Linked DNA regions of Homo sapiens: regions 1, 2, 4 and 5 are each linked to region 3. The links are contacts of gene promoters, found by promoter capture Hi-C in blood cells and fetal thymus (Javierre and others, 2016). All regions are on one chromosome and are shown on one strand. Each heading gives the region's core, a stretch centred on a gene start or on the middle of the fragment in contact. The rest is flanking DNA. Distances are from core to core; before and after follow the strand shown. Region 1 overlaps LEKR1 (leucine, glutamate and lysine rich 1). Region 2 overlaps LEKR1 (leucine, glutamate and lysine rich 1). Region 3 holds the start of TIPARP (TCDD inducible poly(ADP-ribose) polymerase). Region 4 overlaps LEKR1 (leucine, glutamate and lysine rich 1). Region 5 overlaps LEKR1 (leucine, glutamate and lysine rich 1).

Evidence for each region. Contacts are between HindIII fragments. The CHiCAGO score rates a contact against its expected background, and 5 or more counts as called.
Region 1: a contact is called between a fragment that was not itself captured here and the fragment with the promoter of TIPARP in region 3, in 2 of 17 cell types (naive B cells and total B cells). The highest score is 8.7, in naive B cells.
Region 2: a fragment that was not itself captured here is called in contact with the fragment with the promoter of TIPARP in region 3 in 2 of 17 cell types (total B cells and naive B cells); the score reaches 11.6 in total B cells.
Region 4: a contact is called between a fragment that was not itself captured here and the fragment with the promoter of TIPARP in region 3, in 2 of 17 cell types (total B cells and naive B cells). The highest score is 15.6, in total B cells.
Region 5: a contact is called between a fragment that was not itself captured here and the fragment with the promoter of TIPARP in region 3, in 1 of 17 cell types (total B cells). The highest score is 6.2, in total B cells.

What each region holds. Positions count from the first base shown.
Region 1 is chr3:156,991,697-156,996,263 of GRCh38, reverse strand. LEKR1 (leucine, glutamate and lysine rich 1) reads right to left here. Exons shown (of 13, transcript NM_001004316.3): 8 at 3,534-3,611; 9 at 2,987-3,190. Among named protein-coding and RNA genes, the nearest start is that of LINC02029, 88 kb to the left of the region's middle. The HindIII fragment of the contact is 3,776 bases long and covers 1-3,402 here.
Region 2 is chr3:156,974,644-156,979,528 of GRCh38, reverse strand. It overlaps LEKR1 (leucine, glutamate and lysine rich 1), which reads right to left. Exons shown (of 13, transcript NM_001004316.3): 7 at 254-335. It also overlaps the pseudogene KLF3P2. Among named protein-coding and RNA genes, the nearest start is that of LINC02029, 100 kb to the left of the region's middle. RefSeq lists an enhancer at 755-884. The HindIII fragment of the contact is 343 bases long and covers 3,002-3,344 here.
Region 3 is chr3:156,672,703-156,677,811 of GRCh38, reverse strand. It overlaps TIPARP (TCDD inducible poly(ADP-ribose) polymerase), which reads right to left and starts at 3,222. Exons shown (of 6, transcript NM_015508.5): 1 at 3,016-3,222; 2 at 1-155. The coding sequence starts at 114. It overlaps TIPARP-AS1 (TIPARP antisense RNA 1), which reads left to right and starts at 2,099. Exons shown (of 1, transcript NR_027954.1): 1 at 2,099-4,641. RefSeq lists silencers at 2,137-2,496, 2,867-2,936, 2,967-3,016 and an enhancer at 3,427-3,726. The HindIII fragment of the contact is 8,735 bases long and covers 1,569-5,109 here.
Region 4 is chr3:157,022,224-157,026,957 of GRCh38, reverse strand. LEKR1 (leucine, glutamate and lysine rich 1) reads right to left here. Exons shown (of 13, transcript NM_001004316.3): 11 at 2,034-2,198. Among named protein-coding and RNA genes, the nearest start is that of LINC02029, 57 kb to the left of the region's middle. The HindIII fragment of the contact is 206 bases long and covers 2,261-2,466 here.
Region 5 is chr3:156,948,703-156,953,575 of GRCh38, reverse strand. All of the region lies in intron 6 of LEKR1 (leucine, glutamate and lysine rich 1), which reads right to left. Among named protein-coding and RNA genes, the nearest start is that of LEKR1, 120 kb to the right of the region's middle. The HindIII fragment of the contact is 5,967 bases long and covers 405-4,873 here.

The DNA.
Region 1 (4,567 bases), core at 265-2,764, 320 kb before region 3:
TGACCACCCTAGCCAAAGCAGGCACCTCTTCTATCAATTTTTACTACTTCATATCCATTATCACAATTTATAATTATTCTAGTCAGTTCTCTATTTTTTTGTTTTACTGTTTGTCTCTACCCTTAAAATATAAGCTATGTACTATGTACCCAGGGTACATAGTACCTGGCATATAATAAATGCCCAACAAATAATTGACAGACTGGCTGAATTACCCAAAGTGATCCATTCATTCATTCACTCATGCAACAAATATTTATTGAGTGGATATGTGTGGCAGGCTCTGGGCAGTTAGAGGACAAGGCAGACAAAATCTGAAAGTAGCCTAGAAAAAAGAAGAAGGCAACGCTTATGTTTAGGAGTAACCCTGTGATCACATGATAACCTACTGGTCTACAAGGACATTTTTAAAAAATTTATTTATTTATTTATTTTGAGACAGAGTCTCACTCTGTTGCCCAGGCTGGACAATGGCGTGATCTCAGCTGACTTCAATCTTTGCCTCCCAGGTTCAAGTGATTCTTGTGCCTCAGCCTCCTGAGTAGCTGGGATTATAGGCATGAGCCCCCATGCCCGGCTAATTTTGGTAGTTTTAGTAGAGATGGGGTTTTGCCATTTTGGCCAGGCTAGTCTTAAACTGCTGGCCTCAAGTGATCTGCCTGCCTTGGCCTCCCAAAATGCTGGGCTTACAGGTGTGAGCCACCGTGTCTGTCATTTTTATTTTTATTATGTGACAGACATCATGTCTGTAAACTTAGTGTCACCAATTACTAAGTACATGTATATTCTGGATAGACTAAAGCAGAGAGAATAAAGAAAGTACAAGGGCAATAATACAAGAAAAAAAAGAAAGGAAAAGAAGAAGAATAGGAGTTAGGTCAGTGATGTCACTATTCTCTGAAAGCTGATAGAAACTGTCCTTCTCATTCAACATTTAGAGGGTAAGATTATAGTCATAATAATTTTTTTAAAAACATGGCAAAACATATACATCCAAGTGAATGCTATTTCAAAGCAATTCCCCAAGAAAGCTATATATATATTCTACTGAGGTTACTAATCCTCAAAGCATTCATAAAACTCCCCTCTTCAAACTGCAGTCAGAGATAATTTATTAAGCATAGAAAAAGGGGAAAAATTTACTTTATTTTTGATCCCCAATAGTATTTCCCAGGTTGATTTCCCATCATATTCACTGGACTTATTTTCACTGGACCTATCTGAGACTGTTTCAAATATTCAGTGTATTCCTAAAGGATAAAGATCTGTCATACTGACGAGAGTCTAAAACATGTGCTTAAGCCAGTCCTTGGAGAAGAGTTCCAGAAACAATTAGACAAAGACAGGTTCTTCTCAATGACTTCAGTGAAGGAGACAGCATTCATCTGACTAAACAATTAAGCCTAATTAATCTGGCACCATTGGAAATATGATATTCTGGGTAATATAGGCACTGCTCAGATAACCAAAGTTCTAAACCAAATACTTTGAAAATTTGTATTTATTCCATGGTGTCTTTTCAAAGATGTATGATGTGTGTCTTTTGTATAGAATACATAACTGATTTTAATCTTTCTGACTATATACGTTAGCATATATAGGTTTTATCTCTGCTTACACATGCTGAATCTTTCAACTATCATTCCTTTTTTTATTAATAAGCCTGGCTCTTATACATTTCATTGTTATAAAATTGCAGCTTCTAATAAATGGCAGAGGAGGTGGGGTGGAATAGTCAGTTAAGTAGAGGGTACATTTTCGGTGTTGAAGGGTGAAGAGTAAATGGTGGGGGGATATCAGCTCTGCAGTTGCTAATCTTATTCAATAAAATATAAGTAATTATAAAATCATCCCAGGACGGACGAGAGATAAGCCTTGTTTCCCTATGAACTACACAGACTTCCTGCTTGCCTGGTGTAGAAACAGATTTGGTGCCCAGGGAACAGTGTTGGCAAGAAAGAGTTCTGAGACAAAAAAATCTAATTCTAAGATAACTGCTACCCACTACCCTGGTCCCCACCCCCAGACTCAGCAAACAGGTTTGCAAAGGAGGACTCAAAGAAAAAAAAGATTGTAACTCTTCTAAATTATATTCATAAAATAAAATATAAACTAAAATATAAAAATGATAGGAAGAATGAAAAACAAATAACCTATCATGTGCCTTCTGTGCACAGAAAATGATAGAAAACAAAAATTCCTGCCCTTATGAAACTTGTGTTCTTAGTTAATATAATAATTATATCAGTAAATGTAAATGAAATAATCTCTTAAAGAAGCCCAGATTTTTAAATCAATGAAACAAAAAAACCCTAAGATTTGTGCTATATATCAGATATGCATTTAAAACAAAAGGATTCAGAAAGAATGAGCAAAGACATAGCAGGCAAATGAAAACAAAAAGAAAGAAAGTAAGGTTGAAATATTAATTACAGATAAGGTTAAACACAAATTAACTAAACAAAAGTATCTTGGAAGCCTGGACCAATGTACTTCTTAGTATCCTCGATACCACCTAAGGAGGTATCTTTGCTTGTGCCATATCCTCCAACAAGATGTGCTGACAGACAAGGAGGAGAGAAGAAAAGTAGGAGCCAATAGAAGGAAAAAGTGATATAAAAAGATCTTTTCTGTTGGAAAAATGATAGAATCTACCAATCACTGACCCAGGTGAAATTTAGTAGTACAAGTATCACACGTGGTCTGATTTTTTTTTTTTTCAAGAAGAATTTGACACCAAATGCAACTTGGGCTTCATTCCTACTTTCACCAACTGCAACTTTACCAAGTCATGTAACCAACTGGAGCTTCAGTCTAATCACTTGTAAAATGAGGTGGTGGGATGCAATGACCTTGTAGGAGAAATATATCTTTAGTCCTGTGATTTCACTATTGTTATAATATGTCAGACACTGATGTTGCAAATATATATGGAATACTAACTTAAACATAAAATGTTTTTGTAAGAAATTATTGTTTACTGCACCTTTCATTTTTCAGTGTTAAAACCTCTTCCCTTGTCTGATTCAGAAGAGTTTTGGTTATCTCCAGTTCATTTTCTGCAAGGTTAATTCTTCTCTTTATGTCTTCTTCTTGCTTTTCTTTCACAGTCAGCTCTTCCTGTAATGCTTTATATATCTGTTGACAAGTCATTAAAGAGTCTTCTTTTTCCTTAAGCAGCATAGTATGCCTAAAAAGAAATAGGAAAAACACCCACCAACATACATTATATACTACATTTTATATTTACCAAAGATGTATCAAGAGCTCATTTGAAATTATAGATTATAACTGTAACTTTAAAAAATTAAAAATTTTAAAAAAAGAATGGTTCTATAATGTTAATATTTTCCCATCTAGGCAGTGGCAACAGCAATAACCAACTGCAAGATAATATAAGCTTGAATTAGGTATTTTATATGTAAACAATAAGAAAATAAAAAATGATAAGTGCCTTTTAAATAAAATGTTACTTAAATACAGTTTTAAGTTCAATTATTAAAAATATAAATTTAAAAATTGGTAATGCATACTGTGACTCAGAAATAATGGATTCAAACTTCAGTTTTTTAAGTTCTCTTTGACAGTCATCAGCTTCATTAGATTTATTCCTAAAATAATACAAAAGAAGTTAAAATATATTATTTCAAAATAAAGTATATGTTTTTCTGTAGCATTATTTTACTCATCAATAGAAGAAATTTCTTAACATCTTCATATTATTATTTGTTTAAAGAAATAAACATTCAGTTTACTTCTATACTGGCCAACAAAGCTTCTGTCAGACTGATTTGCATGTAAATAAAAAGTATAAACTGCACAACACTAAAAAACAAAAACAAATAAACAAAACCAAAACCCAAAATACCTATGTGAAGGTATTGGAAAGTGACTAAAAGCAGGGAGATTCTGGAGGAAAGTTGACAGTTGGAATGAGGTGACAGCATGGGGTTGGGCTATTAAAAATAATTTTAAGCCTGAGGGCAGCCCCCAGTCAGCACCCTGCAGGGGAACTAAAACTCTTAGAGAAATCGTCAGTCTTTCTGGCCCATAGAACCAGAGGCCATGGTATTTGGGGCAACCACAGCTGTTGGAAAGTAAAGAAAGGATGCTGAAGAGGCGAGAGCCGGAGAAAGAGAGTCCCAAATACTCCACATAAATTCTGCCCCTGAACTACACATGTATTAAGCATATTCCAAGCAGCCTAGTTAAAGAAAAAGAACTGAACTGAGATTGAGCTGTTATCCTGGACAGAGATTGCCATTTGAGGTGAAGCAACACCACTTCACCACTCTCAACAATAACAACGACAACAATATTTTTTGGAGAAATATAGCAGAATCCAGACTCTCTATAACATAATGTTCACAATGTCCAGAACATAGTAAAAAAGTATTCAGAAAAGTGTTACTCATTCTAAAGAGAAAGACAGTTAATAGGAACTGACTCTGAGATGACCCAGATATTGAAATGAGCAGACAAAGATTTTTGAAGAAGTAATTATTCACTTTGCTCAAAGACATAAAGGAAAATCTATTCTAATTAATAAAAAGATGAGAAATCTCAG
Region 2 (4,885 bases), core at 1,924-4,423, 300 kb before region 3:
GTTTCTTATTGAGAGAAAGAAATCCTCCATGTATTTAAAAATATTTACAGGTTCTTCAATATATAATCTAGGCCAGTAAAGTGGGCAAGAAAAGCAGCAGTAAACTATTACCCACACCAGTAAATCACTGCCAAAAGAATCACAGAGAACACACCAGGGTCTTTATAATTCTTGTCATTTCTTCCTAATTCTTGCCATTTTGTAACACATCTACAGAGCACTGTTATAAGTTGTTTAATATTCTCCATCTTACATAAGCATTTCTTTATAGTTGTCCATCTCTGTCACCGCCTTCTGAAGTTTTAATCCAAGTGCCTCTACTAGACATTGTAAATCTGAAATGACACAATGTATTTCATCTGATTAGTACATTTTAAGTGTCCAGATATTTTCATAGAGTAAACCATATTCTTTTGTTGCTAGTCAGCTCCTGAAGAATAAGGCAGCTGCTTATTCCACTTTGCCTGTATGTCCATATGCAACTTATCATTGCCTACTCAGCCCTCCCTATCCTAACACCCCACAGACTTAATGGGTTTTGACAGGCCCAATTTGTTGGCCTCTTTCTGCCCCCACCACCATGCTGATTTTCAAACAGCTAATAGGCTAAATTTTACTAATGTTTTCAAAGGAAATGTATGTAGCTGACAAACATAAGAATTTCTGATCACGTGTCTTGTTTCTAAAACACATGATTGCCTGAGCTCACTTTTGTGGTCTGGAACTGTGAAGCATGGCTGAGTCTTCCTGCTAGAACTAAAACAGACAAATCATGTTCCAGGCTCATAGTAAAGAACGTGTTAACTCTGGGTAGCATCTAAAAGGCATTTTAGTGACTTTCAAAACCAAGAGAATACAAGCAGGAAACTGGCTTCCATAGAGTCTTTAACTGGAGAATGTAAGCAGTATTTGAGGATTATTATTCAAGCAGCCCTGTCTAACAAGTGTGTGAATGCAGAACTGAAACCATAGCAGAAAGAACAAATGGCTTGAATTATCTAAGTCCTTCCATTGTCCTGTGTGTGGAAACTGTGATCTGAACCCCAGCCCCAGTGACAGCCCTTGCTGGTACGCTTTTTGAGAATAAGTTATAATGGAAAACAAACTGATAGACTGGTTGGTGTCTCCAGAAAAAAAATGTTCAAAACACTGGAGTTGTAAAATTTCTATGTTCCATCTGTTCAGGTGTTTCAGTGACATATTTTAATAGTAAACTTTAAAATCTTTATGCATCCATATAAATACATAAAACTATATAAATCGGCATTCTTAACTTTATTTTACAAAGAGTTAGTTCCTTAAATTAGAAAATAAATTCACTCTAAACAAATGTTTTAATTAGCATTTACCAGACATTTGTATAAACCTTTGTTTATCCAGTGCTTTTACATACATTAATTTTTGTTTCTTAGTTTACATGTTTTCTTGTTCTTATTACATTAACTTTATCTATCTCTAAGAATAGTTTGCTTAGCATCTCTAAAAAAAGTTCTCATTTTTTAGGTCACCCATGGTAAGGAGAGGGAGGATTAGAGAGTACCTGCTACTGACCATATGGAAGTTTTGGATGATATAAATTCAGAGGATCAGACCAGCTGAATCAAAATTAAAATGTACATGTAAAAAGTGTGATAGATAATGGTGGGAGTATAGAGAAAGAGCCAGGTGAGTAGGGAGTCATGTTGAGGTGGGAGACAAAGGCATTCAGACTAGCATGTGGCGTTTCCTGTAGAAGGCAAGATGGTCAGAACAGAAGCTGTGGTTACAGTCCAGGCACCAAAAAGATTTGACTCCAGTATGTTTTCAGAAATGTCTTATTTATCAGACAGAGCAAACTTCCATATGCATCCATCCCATGTACATTTGTAGGGTTTATCTCCTGTGTGTGTTCTTCTGTATGATTTCACGTGGAAACTTTTAGTGTATACTTTGTTGCATATGTCATAATCACATCTGTGTATCCTCTGCTTCCTTTGAGTTATCCACCAATTCCATCAGTAAAGGTCTCTTCCCAGGCTGCACTATGACCTAAGGGAGATTCTCTTGCAACAATGCTTGTTGCAAGGGGTGGGCACTGAGTTCATTAAGGGGGGGTGACATTTCTTCAGGATAATAATCTGTCCTCTGTTGTTTGATCACAGGTTCAATTTTTTTTCCTATGCTATAGGCTTCTTATATGATTCAATTACAGGTACTTGCATGCTACTATTTGAATTCTCCATTTCCTCCAACAAGGAAACAATGAGAGGCTGCTGGAGGTAACTCATTTACATAAAGGGGACAGACCATACCACCACCAGGCAGGATCCCTAGGCTCTGTATTCTGTGCCAGGAGAAGGCAGCTGCCATCACCGGTGGCATGGAGAGTGGCACGCCAAAGGGCTGCATGCCCAGAGAAGAGAGTGAGTATTTTTCATCATGGGCTGGAAGAAGGCATGCTCAGCTCTGGAGAGGCTCTCCAGTTCAAGGATGGGAACTTCAGAGAGGAAGAATTCCCAGCCAAACGGGTGAACTCCACTTGTTTACTGTGAGGTCCACTGGCTCCATCTGTATTCCATGCAATAAGCCTTCCCGGGTCTGAAAAAACTTATTAGGTAATGGTGTAGAGTAGATGACCCATACTTGTTAGGTTTTATTGATTTCATATAATTTCATGTATAGTCACAACTACCAAGAAAACTCTAAGGATTAGAGTAATTAACTTATCAAGGTCACTCAGCTAGTTAGATCCTATAATTCAAACTCAGGTCTGCCTGATCCTAAAGTTCTTATATCTCTCACACTTGAAATATAAACTCTTGAGATATAAAAGCTGCAAGAGAATATGATATTGTCCATAAGAGTGTGGTAAGTGTGGCTACAAATCTGTTACCATATTCCCAGAATCCTTAAAGAGGTATACTTAAGACAAATGAAAAGAATTACTTAACAATGAAATATGCAGTAAACTGGTAGAATTTCTAACTCCAAAAGGTGGTTTAGATTTTAGTTTTAGAAAGCTTAAATATATATTATAGTTAATAAAAATATTAATAAAATTATGGTGTTACTGTGACTGATTCCATGAGAAGATTTCATCAGAGAGAACAATCACACCTTACTATTAAATGGCCCCTGGTGCTTTTGTCAGGATATGATCCTAAACTAGATGAAGCATAGGTCTGAGCCCATATGATAAATTTTATGTTATTACTTCTAAATGCAGCTATAAATTAAAAGGAAGACTTATCTTAAAATGAACTTCAAAGAACTGGTACTTGATATGTAATTTTATGCAGTTAATTCTCAATTACCTGAGAATTAGTAGAATAATAGACAGTAAAAATGGCAGCTAATTCAAAGCTTTGCTCTTCTGAATGAAATATAAACATCCTACTAGTTCACTATAGGTTCTGGTAGACTAGTCTGGTCCTTTTGTTTTTAGAAGCAGAGTGCCCAGTTCCTGTCCTTAATAAATAAAGAAACACCATTAGGATAAGCTGCAGAGAGATTAAGCCACCTGCACAAAACAGCTCCTTCAGTTTCTGAGGCAAGGAGTTGTTAAATAAGTGTATTATTGTTCTGCCCAGTCCTTCTCTATAGTTAAAGAAATTCGACTTTAATTTTCTGTCACTCAGCATGACATTGGATTATGAGGAACAAGGCCCTAAATGCCTACAAAAATAAAGGAAGCATTGGCTTTAAACACCATGCAGATGTAAGGCAGAACCCATGGAAACAATAAAAAATTTACAACAGTAAATTCTACTATGATGTGACTGTGTTCTTTGCAGATATTAAATAAGAAGTAAATGATTTTAAATGAACAAGACAGAAAGAGTTCTTAACCTCTCTTCATATGAAGCCAGCTGTTTGCTGGATAGCATTACACAGGCATCAGATTTGGGATAATCAGTCATTTAAGAGAATCCTGCTATCCCTACAGGTTTCTAGAAACTACAAATATAAAAGGTATTCATAATTAGCTATTTTATAGGCTGATATAAAACTTCATAGTCACTTGGAGGGCACATTAAGTTAGTATAATGTTTGAGAAAACAGTAACTAAAACCTATATAGTGGAAAGTTATTTCAAGCTTAAAACTTACTGGATAAAGGAAACGCAAAACATTTAAAAATCTGGTTCAAAGTGCTATGTGGAGGAAAATGATTCCAGGTTAAAGTAGCATAATGGAAGAACAAGCAGGCAGATGAACTGGCACCCAGAGATCAGGGAAATTTTTTTTTTAATGTAAAATAGAAGGCTGTACTTTTTTATTGTATAGGTAATTGAAGACAAGGAAAAACAAGAACTCAACACTTGTCTGTGACAGGATAGTTTAAAGGTGTCATGCAGGAGCTCTTTAGAGTGCCAGACTGCCTAATTTCAAATCCTGGCTCTGCTTCCTGTTAACTGTTAACTCCAGTTTCATTATCTGTAAAATAGTCACTATCATACAGGACTGTTCTGATAATTAAATTACTTAATGTATGTAAAGAAGGGGAATAGTTGCAGGCACATTGGGAGTAACACGCACATGTTAGCTATTATCATTGGTGGTGGCATGAAGGCTACTCTTCCACTTCTGCCCTGAATCTCATCACTTCTCACCTTGAGGATATGCTGTTTTTGCACTTGGACCTGGTGTCACCAGTAGCTATCTTTGTATGGGGAGGAGTAAAAATGGAAGTGTTAATTGTCTTTTTCTTCTTTAACAATCTATAGTGCAACTATGGCAAAATTTTAAAACTTGTTAACTATGGATGATGGGAACACATACATGTTGTATTATTCTATTTTTCTGTTAGAAAAATTTATAGGTATATTAATTAGAGGGGGGCGTTGCTGGCACGGGTCAAGGATGATAGCATGTTTTGTACTACAGAGTCTAATCAACTCTGTTCT
Region 3 (5,109 bases), core at 1,973-4,472:
AGTCTTCAATGGAGTGATCTTCTCAGAGAGTCTCATTTGGCATGAAAAGTCATCAGGAGGAGAGGGAGGCTGCACTACACAGTCTGGCTCAGGTTCGGTGGTTTCCATTTCCATAATGTGGATTAGCTCCAACTGCTCCTCAGAGTCTAAAAATCCTACGAGGAAAGGAAGGAAGATGATCATTTACAAACTGACAGCAACTGGATTTCATTCATTCATTAAAATGTTTTGTTTTTGTCCTGACTGATTCCCTGAAACCATTCCTCTTATACTATATTTAGTTTTTACAAGTCAATTTTAAATTTTATCGAGAAATTAAGGCTCCAAAGCACCCAAGGCTATTCAAAAGCACACAGCAGGTAAAAGTAGAAGAGTCTTTCAACAGGCCATTGGCATGCATTTGTGGACTGAATACATAAGAGTTTGCAATTCTGCTAGGTTAAGAATTTCTACTATAAGGTTAGAGTGGGGTGGGAAATGGGAGGTAGAAATAACTGTATCTAGATGATGACAGCAGGGAAACCACATTTCCACTCAGCTTTGCGGTTCTCTTTATAGTTGTTTATGTATCACCTATCTCATGAGTTGACAAAAAGTTTCTTTAAAAGTTCATCAAATGAAAGATAAACTTCAAACTTAAAACAGTGAGTCAATTTAAGGGTATAAGAACATACACAAGTAACAGGGGCTCTCAATTGAAATGTTCTATGGGAGAAAGCCAGGAGTCTGTTAAGCATTTCTATATTCAGAAAGCTCTAATATACTATCCAAGAATGTTAAGAGTCTACTTTTACAACCCCCAAAAACATTACCGCTTCTGATGGAATACAAGGGTGTGTTTAGTAACAGAAGCCCCATTAGCAACAACCACTGCACGATGTGTCAGAAGACAAGCACAACTTGGTAACACAGAAAAAGCCTCCTAGTTCTTGCCTTCAGAAAAGTTACATACATACATTTTTAAAGAGCAAATGAAGGCATACTATAGAAAAATAAAAAAAAAATATAAAACACACACCAAATTTCAGATTCCTAATCAACTACTGAAAGAGACGAAAAAGTCCTTTCTTCCAAGAATCAGACCCCTTGAAAAAAACTGAAATTTGAAAACATTTACTGAGATTGTGCCAGGTGAGAAAGGAATGGTGATGAGCAATTAATCCTCTTCTCTCTTGTCCAATAAACTGAAAGAGATCTGTGACGCAAGGTCCCATGACTTAATCAAATATGCATCCTAGGTGCCCAATAAAGTGCCTAGCTACCACAATGCACACAGCTGGTGTTCCATATATATTTTGTTGGCTGAATTAGTTAAGAAAAGCACATATTAAATGCTTAGTTCTTTGTTGTTTGTGGGTCAACAACAAAAGGTAAAACTGAGTGTCCCCAAAAGTGAATATTAAAAATTTAATTGGAGAGTCATAAATCTATGTGTAAGAAGTCCATCAAATTCAGAAAAGTAAAATACAAAGCAGTTTATAACGAAGTATTAAATTTACATGATAAGTACAAAAGGAAAAGGCAGAAAAAGGAGAGTTCACTGTAAGCTGGCATTGTTAGGGAAAGCTTCACGAAGAAGGAGGGATCTGACATGAGACATAAATCAACTGGAAAGGAGCCAAGCCAGGCGTTATTATTCATCATTTGGTGTTATTGCCTCAAGGCACAATTGGCACAGATTGTGGTATTCCCTCTCCACCATACCAAACCGGCCTGTGCTTTCCCCACGCGCACACTCTCTAACCACTCCTATCAAACCCAATCAAGGTAAAATAGACACTAAATCGATTTTATTTATATGTGTGTCTGCGCGTACACACGCAAGCGCGCGCGCGCAACTTTTCCTATTATTGCCCTTTCATCAAACTCGGAAACAAAACTGGGAGGAAGAAGCAGAGAACTGGAGAAGTGGCTGGAGGGGGAAAGCCACTAGAACCTAGCTCCTCAATTAGTTTTCATAACAGAAAAATAAAGATGAGAAGAACACATCCTCCGGTCTCCAGCGGCAGGCGACACACCGCGACACCCCTCACCTCGTGACGCTGGGGTTCTGCGGCACTCCCGGCCAAAAGCACTTTCCGAAAAAACTGCCGCTCCAAAGCCTGCCCGCCCGCCGCCGCGCGACACCCCGGCGCCGAGCCCGGGTCCGAGTGACGCCTCCTGTTGGCCGCGGCGGTTTGCTCAGCTCCTGGTCCCGGGCCGCGCCAACTCCGCGCAGTGCAGCTGAGGCGCCGCCCGGCTCTGCAATTCCGGGTGTTCCCGGGCGTCCCCGCCCCCGCCTTCCCCTCAGCAGGCGCCTGGGCGCCCCCCAACTCCTGTCCAGCCTCCTTCGGACCAACGACCCGCCCCGGCCTCCCTGCATCCCAGAGACTACTCGCGGCGCCTTCTCTCTCTAATTCTTCTTTACCCCCTCAGCTCACCTCCCGAGGAGCGTCCAACGGGTCTTGGGGGCTCGCAGAACTGAGCCGCGAAGCGCGGGGGAAAGGCGGCGAGCGCTTCCCGCGGCGGCGGGGAGGAAGACGAAGACTTGTGCGCTCTCAAAGTTAATGTGAAAACATCTTCCAAACTTCTGGGCTGCAGCCCGAAACGCGGGGTAGCCGGAAGGCTCCCGTAGCTGCCGTGCCCTCCCCCCCGGGGTCTGGGAAGGGCTCCTAGGCGCCTCAGAGCACCCGGGGTCGGCCCGCGGGGGAGGCCGCATAGACGCGCCCCCACCCTGACGAACGGGGAAGGGGCAGGCGCCTGCGACCCCAACTAAATCCTTCGGCGCCTCGGTCTGATGTATACACCTGCCACAGGCTCTAAGTGCCTAAGAAGTGTAAACCAATTCCATCTTCATGCTGACGGGACCCGAGTGAATTCGGTACAAAGGGCAGTCTCAAAATCAATCACCCCGATCCGCGAGAGCCCCGCACACTGCCGGCGCGGGGCCGGGGCCGGGGCCGGAGCCGCGAGGCCGGCGCTCGCACTCCCCGCTAGGGTTCTTCAGCCCCTCAGTGCCCTCCCGGAGCCCTTTACCTGAACGGGAGCCTGAGAGAACGGACGACAGGAGCCGAGTGGAAAGCAGTGCCCGCGCCGGAGATCAGCGCCGAGGGCGGGAGCCGACGTCTAGGGACCACAGAGCCGCGACGCGGCGAGCCGCGCACGGGCCATTCCGCCGCCGCGAACGCAGAAAGCCTCGACCGCGCTCCGAGTCCAGCCAGCTCGCCTGTCACCTCGATCTCTGCTTTAAGTGGCTTCCGGTCGCCTCCTCCCGACGGCCCGTCGCGGAGGCGGAGCCTGGGCGGCCGGAGTTCGGTGGGGTGGGGTGAGGAGGCCGGGCGCTCAGTGGGTGTCGGGAAGAAGACCCGCCCCCTGCGCGCGCGTGCGCGTTCGTTCGAGGGGAGGCGCGCGAGTTCTGTGCGGTGGACTTATGCTCCCGCGAGGGGGCGTGTCCTTTCTCGCGTCCGCAGTGTCCCTGAGGGTCCGCGTCTACACGCGGCTGTGAGGAAGGAAGGCGCGTGCCGCGTGGGACGGGCTCCACCTGCCTGCGGACAGATGGAGGGTCACTTTGTTCCGAGAAGACCCAGACACCCGAGGGAGGATGTGAAACGGAACGACCCGTTTCGGTGCGGTTGGCTTTGTTTATTTGCCTACTCCCCAGACGCCTCCAGCCTCTGATTCCGGCACACCCTGTGAGGAAGCAAACGGCTGCCTCCCCCACTGCCACCAGACGAGGTCGCCTGCCCCGAGCCGGACAGGCTGGACAGGCTGCGCACCTGCGGCGGCCGACTATTTCGTGGGCCTTGTACGCCACCTTGCAGAAGGGAAGCTGTGAGGTTTTGGCGATAGAAGCGCATTTACTTGTGTTTTAAAGCCCACAAACGCCGTAGTGACTAACTTATTCATTCAGCAAATGTCTGTCAGAGCGTCTATTACGTACCAGGCATGTAGCCTGAACTTCACGCCTGTCCTCATGGAGCTTGCAGAGCACCTCTGAAATACACACCACATACGGAATGGCCATATTTTCTGGGTTGTAAAATACTTTGAATTGTAACTCCATATATTGAATAGATTTTCAGTAGTGAGGGAAGAAACAATACATTTAGTTCATATAATCCATATGTACGAAAAAGAAGTGCTGGTAATTCCAGACATGGAAGTCAGTAAAACTAGGAGCTAAGAGGTAATAATCATAGACATTATGATTCTAAGCCTTTGTTAAACGGTTCTAAACCAGACTGGGTAAGCGCACCAGCAATGAATAGATTAAGGGTGTTATCTCCTTAGCAGCTTATTTCAAATTGCATCAAGGCAGGGCCATTAAACTAAGGTGAGAATGATATGGGCGGAATTCAGAGGACAATAGGTAAAAGATGAAAATCTTTACATTTAAAATCTTATTGAGACAAGATCTTGGTCAGTGTCTACTCATACATAGAATTGCCTAGAAGCTAATATTTGAGTTTACCATATTACTGTTGGCTTTCTATTTTTCTCATTTGTTCTGTTTCTTTTCTGTCCTTTTGTGCCTTCTTGTAGATTATTAATTCCACTCCCTTGTAACAATTAGGTTGTTATACATTCTTTATGCTTTTAGTAGTATTTCAGTTATTTATTGCTGTGTTCAAACCACCCCCAAAATATAATGACTTAAAACAATGGCTCTTTTATTTACTCATGATTCTGAATTCTCTGGCACAGGAATTCAGTCAGGGCATAGTACAGGTGGCTCATTTCTGCTCCATGATGTCTGGGGCTTCAATTAGCGTGGGCATACTGGGGCCTGGCTGGAATGGCTTAACTAGGGTCATAAGTCTTGGGACTTAAGGATGGAGATGGAGTTTCATGACAAAAATGAAGTGAACATGATGTGGAAAATATGGACATGGAAGCCACGAGCTAAGGATGCTGGAACAGAAAGAAGGCTGTTAGCTACATACCTTGGTTTTTCTCTACATGGCTTCTCCATATGGCTAATTTAGGCTTCCTCACAGCATCATAATCTTAGGATTGCAAGAGGGGACATTCCAAAAAGACAAGCCTCAATGTGCAAGCCTTTACTTTTATCATGCTTACTAATGTGTCACTGGCCAAAGCAAGTCTCATGGCCAAGCTCAGCGTCAGTGT
Region 4 (4,734 bases), core at 1,114-3,613, 350 kb before region 3:
TTCTCAAGGTGGTTCCTCTAGATAAATGAATGAGAGAATAACTTGGAGAAGCTTTTCCTGATGGCATGAAAGTCTTTAGAAGGGAAAAGTCCTCTTGTTTTCTTTCTCCTTAAGAAACAAAACAACGAAACAAGAGCTGCTTCTAATGAAACATATCTTTATTACTTATGCTCAATTATTGTCATGTTATAAATATTAGCACAACAAGAAACTAGCCCACTAAGAATCTGGAAAACATTCACAGACCAAGGTTCCAAGGACTTTGTGAACTGTTACATAAAAAGAGTTATGTATCCAAAATTTGTTTCAAATGTTAAATTTACAGAAAGAATAACTTGTGTGAGAAGTCTCTTCACCATAGTTCATAATTTTATAAATTAATATTCTATTATCTTCAATTAATCCAAGAGGGAAGAAGGCCACTGTCAGGTCTGCACAGTGGTTTTCATCACCCAGAGGAGAGCTGACACTGAAAGTATCTTTGGGAGAGGAGGTTCACATAACCACAAATATGTTTTTATTTTTTAAAAGGCAGTCAACATTTAAAGATCAGGAGGTTTCACTTACAAAATCTTGATTTAAAAATCAGGATTTATGACTTCTCTTAAGAAACTGTAACATTTGGCAAGTTCCAGCTTGCCTGTCTGCATTCTCCTGCTGATGGGATCCTGAACCACCCAGGGCTGCAACAGCAGTCACAGAGTGAGAGGAAGAAGAAAGGGGGAGACTCGGTGGAGCCTGGGGCATCAGGAGCCAGGAAGCAAGAGGTGAGAACCCTCTAGGGGAGGCAGAACCTTGGGGGAGCCAAGGCTCTAAGCTTGTGGCACATGCTCCATTGCCACAGTAGGATTTCACTTACAAAACAGAAGTTCAAAGATAAAATCACTAAGATTTTTTTTTTTCTTTTAGAGAAGGAGTCTCACTTTGTTGCCCAGTCTGGAGTGCAATGGTATGATCATAGCTCACAGAAGCTTTGAACTCCTGGGTTCAAGTGAACCTCTTGTATCAGCCTCCCAAGTAGCCAGGGTATACACTGGTATGAACATACTACAGGTATGAACCGTCACACTAGGCTAATTAAGTCTTTTTTTTTTTTAATAGAGACAGTCTTGCTATGTTGTCCAGGCTGGTATTGAATTCCTGGCCTCAAGTGATCCTCTTGCTTGGGCCTCTCAAAGTGCTAGGATTATAGGCATGAGCCACCATGCCCAGTTAGATTATTAAGAATTTCAAGGTAGTATCTGCAAAGCAATAAATCCAAAGCATGAAGCCTTTCTGAGTGTGGGACCATGTGCTATTGCACTGGTTGTACACATGTAGCTGGTGCTGCCTGTTGTTCACAATGGACTACTGAAATGGATGTACCATACCTCCTGTACACAAATGTAGAAGCCATTAGGTCTTGTCTGATGCTTAATTAACACAGACTCTTAATGCATGTATTCAAAATGTTATTTCCCCACTAGGTCTTGATTAATACACATACACACACACACACACATACACACTCTACACTCAAGTCCTATAAAAACAGGAAAACCTTAACAAAACCTTTAGTATTTAGAACATACTGTTTAAGAAATTTAGGGAGGTGTAATTACATTTTAAAAATATTTCTCTTCATTCAGAAATGTTGAGAATGAAAAATATTTGCAATTAAAGGGTATATGCTTTAGTGGTTGGGAAAATTTTAATTATATAAAACACCTCATTATCTTTCAATGTTGGATATTTGAGGTGTTGAAATATCTAGCCGTACTAATTTTTAGTCATATAATTTATGATGTTTAAAAAATAAGTTTATTCCAGTAGAAAAAATCCATACATAGCTGGATTACATGCTTGTATAACTTATCTCAGTTATCCATTCTGGAGAATTAGCCAAACCGTCTTACCTGCATAGCTAAAACCAAGACACAGTGACCATGAGTGAAAGCTACTGGAATTATAAATACTGTAGTGTTCTAAGGCGAAATATACAACATCTGCAGTTTCAAATCTATTAAATAATGATGAACATCATAATTACAGACCTTCATTTGTAGTTCCTCTTGTTCTTTCTTATACTTTTGGATTACATCTTGGTGTTTTTCTTTTTCAATATCAAGTTGCAATTTTGTTTCTTCCTTAAAGAGAAGAGCTTGCTCTTCAAATTCAACCAAGTGTTGGGCCCTTTCCTTGGCAAGTTCTGCTTCAATCTAGAAATGGCATTTAAAGCACATGTAAAACTATTTTTACCTTAAAATAAGTACATTAAGCTTATTTTCAAACTCTAAGTTTTAAAATGTTCTGACATTAAATTTTTAATTAAACTATTTTAAAAATTCTAGTGTTCAAAAAAAAGTGTGACTTAGAACTTGGGCCAGAAAAATTGACCTTGTGCCAAATATTCCACCACCTTCTAAGACCTGAAAAATTAGTAGAGGAGTTACAACTATATGACAGTTTTCAGAAATACTAAAAGCTTAATTACTTGCTCATTTATACTGTGAACTCAGTCCTTGCCAGCAACTCAGAAAATTGAAGTTTTTGTTTTTAAGCAGATTTTGAGGGCCTTAGACTAAGTTCTGCTTAAAACTCAGAGGGAACACAAAGGACAAATGTTGATTTTTCAAGTGGCCCTTTCTTGATGGAGGTCATAGAAGTTTTGAAGTCACAGATTGTCATTTTAATGTGACTAAAGTGGGAAGGATGATTAAAGGAAAAGAGTCAGTAATGTCCGTACAGATGGTCCCCAACTTGCAATGGTTCGACTTATGATTTTTCGATTTTATAATGGAGAGAAAGCAATATGCGTTTTCAGTAGAGACTATACTTCAACTTTTGAATTCTGATCTTTTCCTGGGCCGTTGATATGAAGTATGATACTCTCTTGGGATGTTAGGCAGTGTCAGTGGGCCACAGCTCCCAGTCATCCATGTGATCATGAGGGCAAACAGCTGATACTGTACAGTGTATGTACTGTGTTGCCAGTATTTTTTAGATATTGTGTTTTCACATTCCATCATGTCTACAGATTACCCATTTTTGACTTACAATACCTTCAATTTATGATGGGTTTATCAGGATGTAACCCCACTGAAAGGTGAAGAGCATCTGTATCCATACTTTGACTCAGATAGAATCATAATGCTAGAAGGGACCTTAGAAATCTCCTAATTCAATCTCTCATGTTTCCATGAATTGTGGAAAGAATAAGCAAGAACTCTAGATGCAGATGAAGTTGAGTTTAAATCCTGGCTCTTAATCCTGGCTCTGCTACTTCCTAACTGAGTGATCTTAAGTTTGTGACTGTAACCCTTCCTGGTAGGGTTATAACGAGTTCCCTTAGGGGCTGTTATGAGGATTAAAGGAGGCAAAGCTTCTGTGTAAAGCTCTAACATGAGTAGGAATTTAACAGTCAGTGGAGAGTACTTCCACACTCTGACCCTTCAGTCTCTACTACTGACTCCATACTAAATGACTGACTGCTGGGTGCCTCACACCTCCAGAAACCATAACTCACTCCTTCCCCAGAAGGCATTTCCATTTTCAGACAGCACTAAGCATTAGGCAGTTTTTCCTGTAGTTGAGCCAACATCTCTCTCCATGTGGTTTTTAACCATTGGTTTTGGCTCTGCCTACTGAAACAAGAAAGAGAAGAAATCTATTAGAACTGGAGTCATTTACTCCTGGGAGTTCATCTAGAGAGACTGGAAAAGGAAATCCCAGTGACAGTCTGGCTCTAGATTTATACTGTGCCAGGATTATAAACTCTAAGAGAGGGTAAAGCCAGGTAAATTGGGAGAAAAACTCACAACTGATGGTGACTGTGTGATTTAGGCCACCAAGACAGGGAAAGAGGTCAACCTAAATTTCTCAAGAGAACAATGAAGCCAGGGTACAAGGACACAAATATTGCTAAGAAAGTTAAAGGAAGCCCTTTACATTAAATAAAATACTGATGGAAGACTAGCCCCAGTGTGGGGTCAATTGGTTTTATTGTACTGGGTATAGGACTAAGCATCTGCCTTAAGGGAATGTAATTATGTTTATACAGTACTGAATGCAAAGAGTTATTTTGGCTCTTTCAAAATAAACTTCTGGATTGTTTGGGATAATAGGCTACTGATGATTTATTAGCAACATTACAGAATTACAGAATTATTCAGATGGGCTGCTCTCAGACTGCTGAAGACAAAGGAAGTCTCAGGGGGCACTCAGAAAAAAAGAAGATATTCCTCTGAATTTCAGGTACTTAAATCCACTTTGCCTCCTGGTAGCCATTTAGATAATTCACAGGTGCCTCCAATGAATTGTATGGCCCAGAAATCTTGTAACAACACTCTTCCCAAAGCCTGTTTCTCCCTCTTATTTCAGGACACAGCTCTACCATCCATCTAGTTACTCAAGTTAGTGACTGGAACATCATCTTTCATACCTCTCTCCTTTACCCTCCCCACCCAATCCAACACAAAATCCTATTCATTTTACCTTCAAAAGATGCTTTGCATCCATTTCTCTATGTCTCAACTTTCATCAGCACTTCCTGATCACCTAGTTCTGGCCACCATCACTTCCTGAACAGCCTCCTTACTTTCACTCCTGCTTCACTCCAACCCATGCTACTACACACAGCACAGTATTCTTTACAAACTATAAATTAGATTTTTTTATTCCTTCTTCGTGGTTTCTCAGTGCATTAATATATCAAAACTCCTGTATATGGCCTTTTACGGGGCGACTACTAGCCCA
Region 5 (4,873 bases), core at 2,139-4,638, 280 kb before region 3:
TGAATGATAGGAACATATGGACACATGGGGAAAACAACACACACTAGAGCCTGTCAACTGGGGGGTTGAAGGGAGGAAGAGCTTCAGGAAGAATAACTAAGGGATGCTGGGCTTAATACCTAGGTGATAGGATGAGATCTGTGAAGCAAACTACTATGGCACACGTTTACCTGTGTAACAAACCTGCACATCCTGCATGTGTACCCCAGAACTTAAAATAAAAATTGAGGGAAAAAATAATAATATGTCAATATTCATTCATTAATTGTAACAAATGCACTAAACTAGTGTACAATGTTAACCATAGGGGAAACTGTGTGTTGGGGGGAGTGATATATGAGAATGCTCTATATTATCTTTTCATTTTTTTCAGTAAATCTCAAATTGCTATAAAAAATAAAGCTTTTTTTTTTAAAGACTCCCCTCATTCATCTCTCATTCACCTAATTCTGATTGCCTCCAAATAATAAATACTGTAGTTAGTTTCTTGTATATATATCTCCAAAGATTTTAAAAATTTATAGAGAGTACAAGTAAATAATAATACACATATATTTCACTTCATATTTTGTATACAAATTATACCACAGTGCATATGCAATGTTATGTATCTTCCTTTCTTTGTTTGACAATATAGTTTGGAGCTCTCTATCTCTCCAAGGAACAAGGAACTTTCTCTGTCTCTCTCTTTCTCTCTCTCTATGGCTATATGGACTCTACTGTTTGAATACTGCACAATTTATTTAACCAGTCACCTATCATGATGTTTTAGGTTGCTTGCAGTCTTTTGGTATTACTATGCTTCAAAGAATAACTTTGCAAATCTGTTACTTCATTTATAAGAAGGCATATCTACATGTTAATTCCTGGAAAAGGAAGTCCAGGGTCAAAGGAAGGGGGTTCATTTGTATTTCAGACAAATATTGAAAACTAGTCTCTAGAGTAATTGTACCAATTTATAGTCCACCCAGAAATGTATTAGAGTGCCTCACCAACCCAATCTGCTATCATACTTTTGGGTTTTGTTAATCTGATACATGAAAATCACTACCTTAGTAGTTTCGTTTTTTATTGATCTTATAAATATTTGAAATATTTAGCTTTGACAGCGTTTTTGAAGGAAAAAAGATCAAAGCTAAACTCCAAAACTTCACAGTTTTCATGAGAATCTATCATTTATACATTAAAGAATTTCACAAGTATTTATATTGTCAGCATTAACAGCTCCTGGTATAATAAATTCCAAAAATGCATTTTTGTTGCTACTACTCTCACATGGTTTCGATGTGCCTCCATTTAGCTAAAAATAGCTTCTAGTTCTAAAAAGTCTCCAGGAATCTACAACTCCTGGGGCCATCCCATCAGCAGCTATTCCAGGTCGAGAGGAAAATCCAGGATATATGAGAAGAATTTCAGTTTTCTCAAGAATGCAAGAGTGTATCTTTAAATAGAGCTTGCCACATCAATTCCCTACTTTTTCTAGTTCATAAAATCAAAACCCTATATATCATTTTGACTATTTCAAGTGACAAGTACAAGTAATTCATTTGAATACAACTTTCATACACTCAAAGATGAAAAATTGATTTGTTCATTCCTTATACTATACCCAATAGTAAAAAATTATTTGAAGCATTAGAATCTCACAATTCTAAGCTATTAAAGAGCAAATCAACCCCAAAGCTAGCAAAATACAAGAAATAACCAAAATCAGAGCTGAATGGAAGGAAATAAAGACACACAAAAACATTCAAAAGATCAATGAATCCAGAAGTAGGTTTTTCGAAAAAGTTAATAAGATAGGCCACTAGCTAGACTAATAAGGAAGAGAGAAGATCCAAATACACCCAATTAGAAATGAAGAAGAAAATGTTACCACTAACCCCATAGAAATAAAAACAACCATCAGAAACTACTACAAATACCTCTATGCACACAAACTAGAAAACCTAGAAGAGATGCATACATACCTGGACACATACACCCTCCTAATACTGAACCAGGAACAAATTGATTCCCAGAACAGACCAATAACAACATCAGAAATTAAATCAGTAATAAACAGTCTACCAACCAAAAAAAAACCCCAGGAGCTGATGGATTCACAGCTGAATTCTACCAGAGGTACAAAGAAGAAGTGGAACCATTCGTAGTGAAACTATTCCAAAGAATCGAGGAGGAAGAACTTCCCAACTCATTTTATGAGGTCAGCATCATCCTGATACCAAGACCTGGCAGAGACACACACACAAAAAAATTCAGGCCAATATCCATGATGAACATCAATGCAAAAATCCTTAACAAAATACTTGCAAACCAAATTCAGCAGCACATCAAGAAGCTAACACGTCGTGATAAAGTAGGCTTCATCCTTGTGATGCAAGGCTGGTTCAACATATGCAAATCAATAAATGTGATTAATCACATAAATAGAACTAAAGAAAAAAACCACATGATTATCTCAATAGATGCAGAAAAGGCTTTTGATAAAATTCAACCTCCCTTTATGTGAAAAACTTTCAATAAACTAAGTATTGAAGGAATAGACCTCAAAATAAGAGCTGTCTATGCCAAACCCAAAACCAACATCATATTGAATGGGCAAAAGCTGGAAGTATTCCCTTGAAAACCAGAACAAGACAAGGATGCCCTCTTTCACCACTCCTACTCGATATAGCATTGGAAGTCCTAAGCCAGAGCAATCAGGCAAGAGAAAGAAATAAAAGGCATTCAAATAGGTTAAGAAGAACTCAAACCATCTCTGTTTGCAGATGACATGTTTCTATATCCAGAAAACTCCTCAGTCTTGACACAAAAGTTCCTTGAGTTGATAAACAGCTTTAGCAAAGTTTCAGGATACAAAATCAATGTACAATCACTAGCATTCCTATACACCAACAACAGCCAAGCCAAAAGCCATATCAGGAACACAATCCCATTTACAATTTACATACTCACACACACATACACACACACACACAAAATTCCTAGGAATAAAATACATAGGAATACAGCTAACTAGGAAGATGAAAGGTCTCTACAATGAGAATTACAAACTGCCCAAAGAAATTAGAGATGACAAAAAGAAATAGAAGAACATCCCATGCTCATGGATTGGAAGAATCAATATCAGTAAAATGGCCATACTGCCCAAAGCAATTTACAGATTCAATGCTATTCCTATCAAACTATCAATGACATTTTTCATAAAACTAGAAAAAATTATTTAAAAATTCATATGGAATCAAAAAAGAGCCAGAATAGCCAAGGAAATCCTAAGCAAAAAGAACAAAGCTGCAGGCATCACATTATCCAACTTCAAACTATACTACCAGGCTGTAGTAATCAAAACAATATAAGAAATGAAAAAGGGGCAGTAACTACAAATAAAGAAGAAGAAATAATAAGAAAATAATGCTCTGAACAACCTCATGCCAACAGCTTTGAAATCTTGGGTGAAATGGATATATTAATACAAAAATATATGTTACTAAGATTGACTCAACAAAATCAAAAGGTTCTGTAACTATTAAATAAATTGAAGCAGTGTCTTCCCACAAAGATATGGCCAGATGGTTTTCTAAGCAAATTCTACCAAACTTTCAAGAAACAGAGAATCTTAATTTTATACAATGTTTTAGAAAGAGCCAAAAATTAAAGTATATTTCCCAACTCATTCTACAAGGCCATAGTGACCTGTAACCACAATCTGACAAAGATATTAAAATAAAGAAATAAAGGCCTATTTCTATTATGAAAACTGATGTAGCAATTTTTAACTAAATGTGAGTAAACTGAAACAAACAGCTTTTCTTTATGCTGAGTATGTGATCAAGTCTTACTAAATGTTCCTTTGAAATATGAAGTAAAATACAATTCTCTACTTGAGAATTCTTGTAAAATCCTTGTGAAAACCCTAGAAGGTCGGGACTGTTATTATACCCATTTTGTAAATAAAGAAACTAAGGCCCAGAGGAGTTTAACTTATGCAAAATAACACAGCTAGTAAATATTGAAGCCAAAAGAACAGCATGGTACTGGTACGAAAACAGGCACACAGACCAATGGACCAGAATAGAGAGCACAGAAATAAAAACGCAAACCTACAACAATCTGATCTTTGATAAAGCTGACAAAAACAAGCAATGGAAAAAGACTCCCTATTCAGTAAACGGTGCTGGGATAACTGGCTAGCCATATGCAGAATACTGAAACTAGACCCCTTCCTTATACCATATATAGAAATCAACTCAAGATGTATTAAAGACTTGAATGTAAAACCCAAAACTATAAAAACCCTGGAAGACAACCTAGGGAATTACCATTCTGGACATAGGAATGGGCAAAGATTTAGTAACAAAGACACCATAAGCAATTGCAACAAAGGCAAAAACTGACAAATAGGATCTAATTAAACTTAAGAACTTCTGCACACCAAAAGAAACTATCGACAGAGTAAACAGACAACTTACAGAATGGGAGACAAAATTTGCAAAGTATGCAGCAGACAAAGGTCTATTATCAAGGATCTAAAAGTACCCTAAATTTACAAGAAAAAAACCCAAACAAGCCCATTAAAAAGTGGGCAAAGATCATGAACAGACACTTCTCAAAAGAAGACATACATGAGGCCAAATAGGAAAAAAAAGTTCACTATCACTGATTATTACAGAAATGCAAATCAAGTGCCAATGAGATATCACCTCACACCAGTCAGAATGGCTATTATTAAAAAGTCAAAAAGTAACAGATGCTGGTGAGTTTGCAGAGAAAAGGACACACTTATACACTTGCTGGGAGTGTAAATTAGTTCAACATTGTGGAAAGCCATATGGCAATTCCTCAAGGAGCTAAAAGCAGAACTACCATTTGA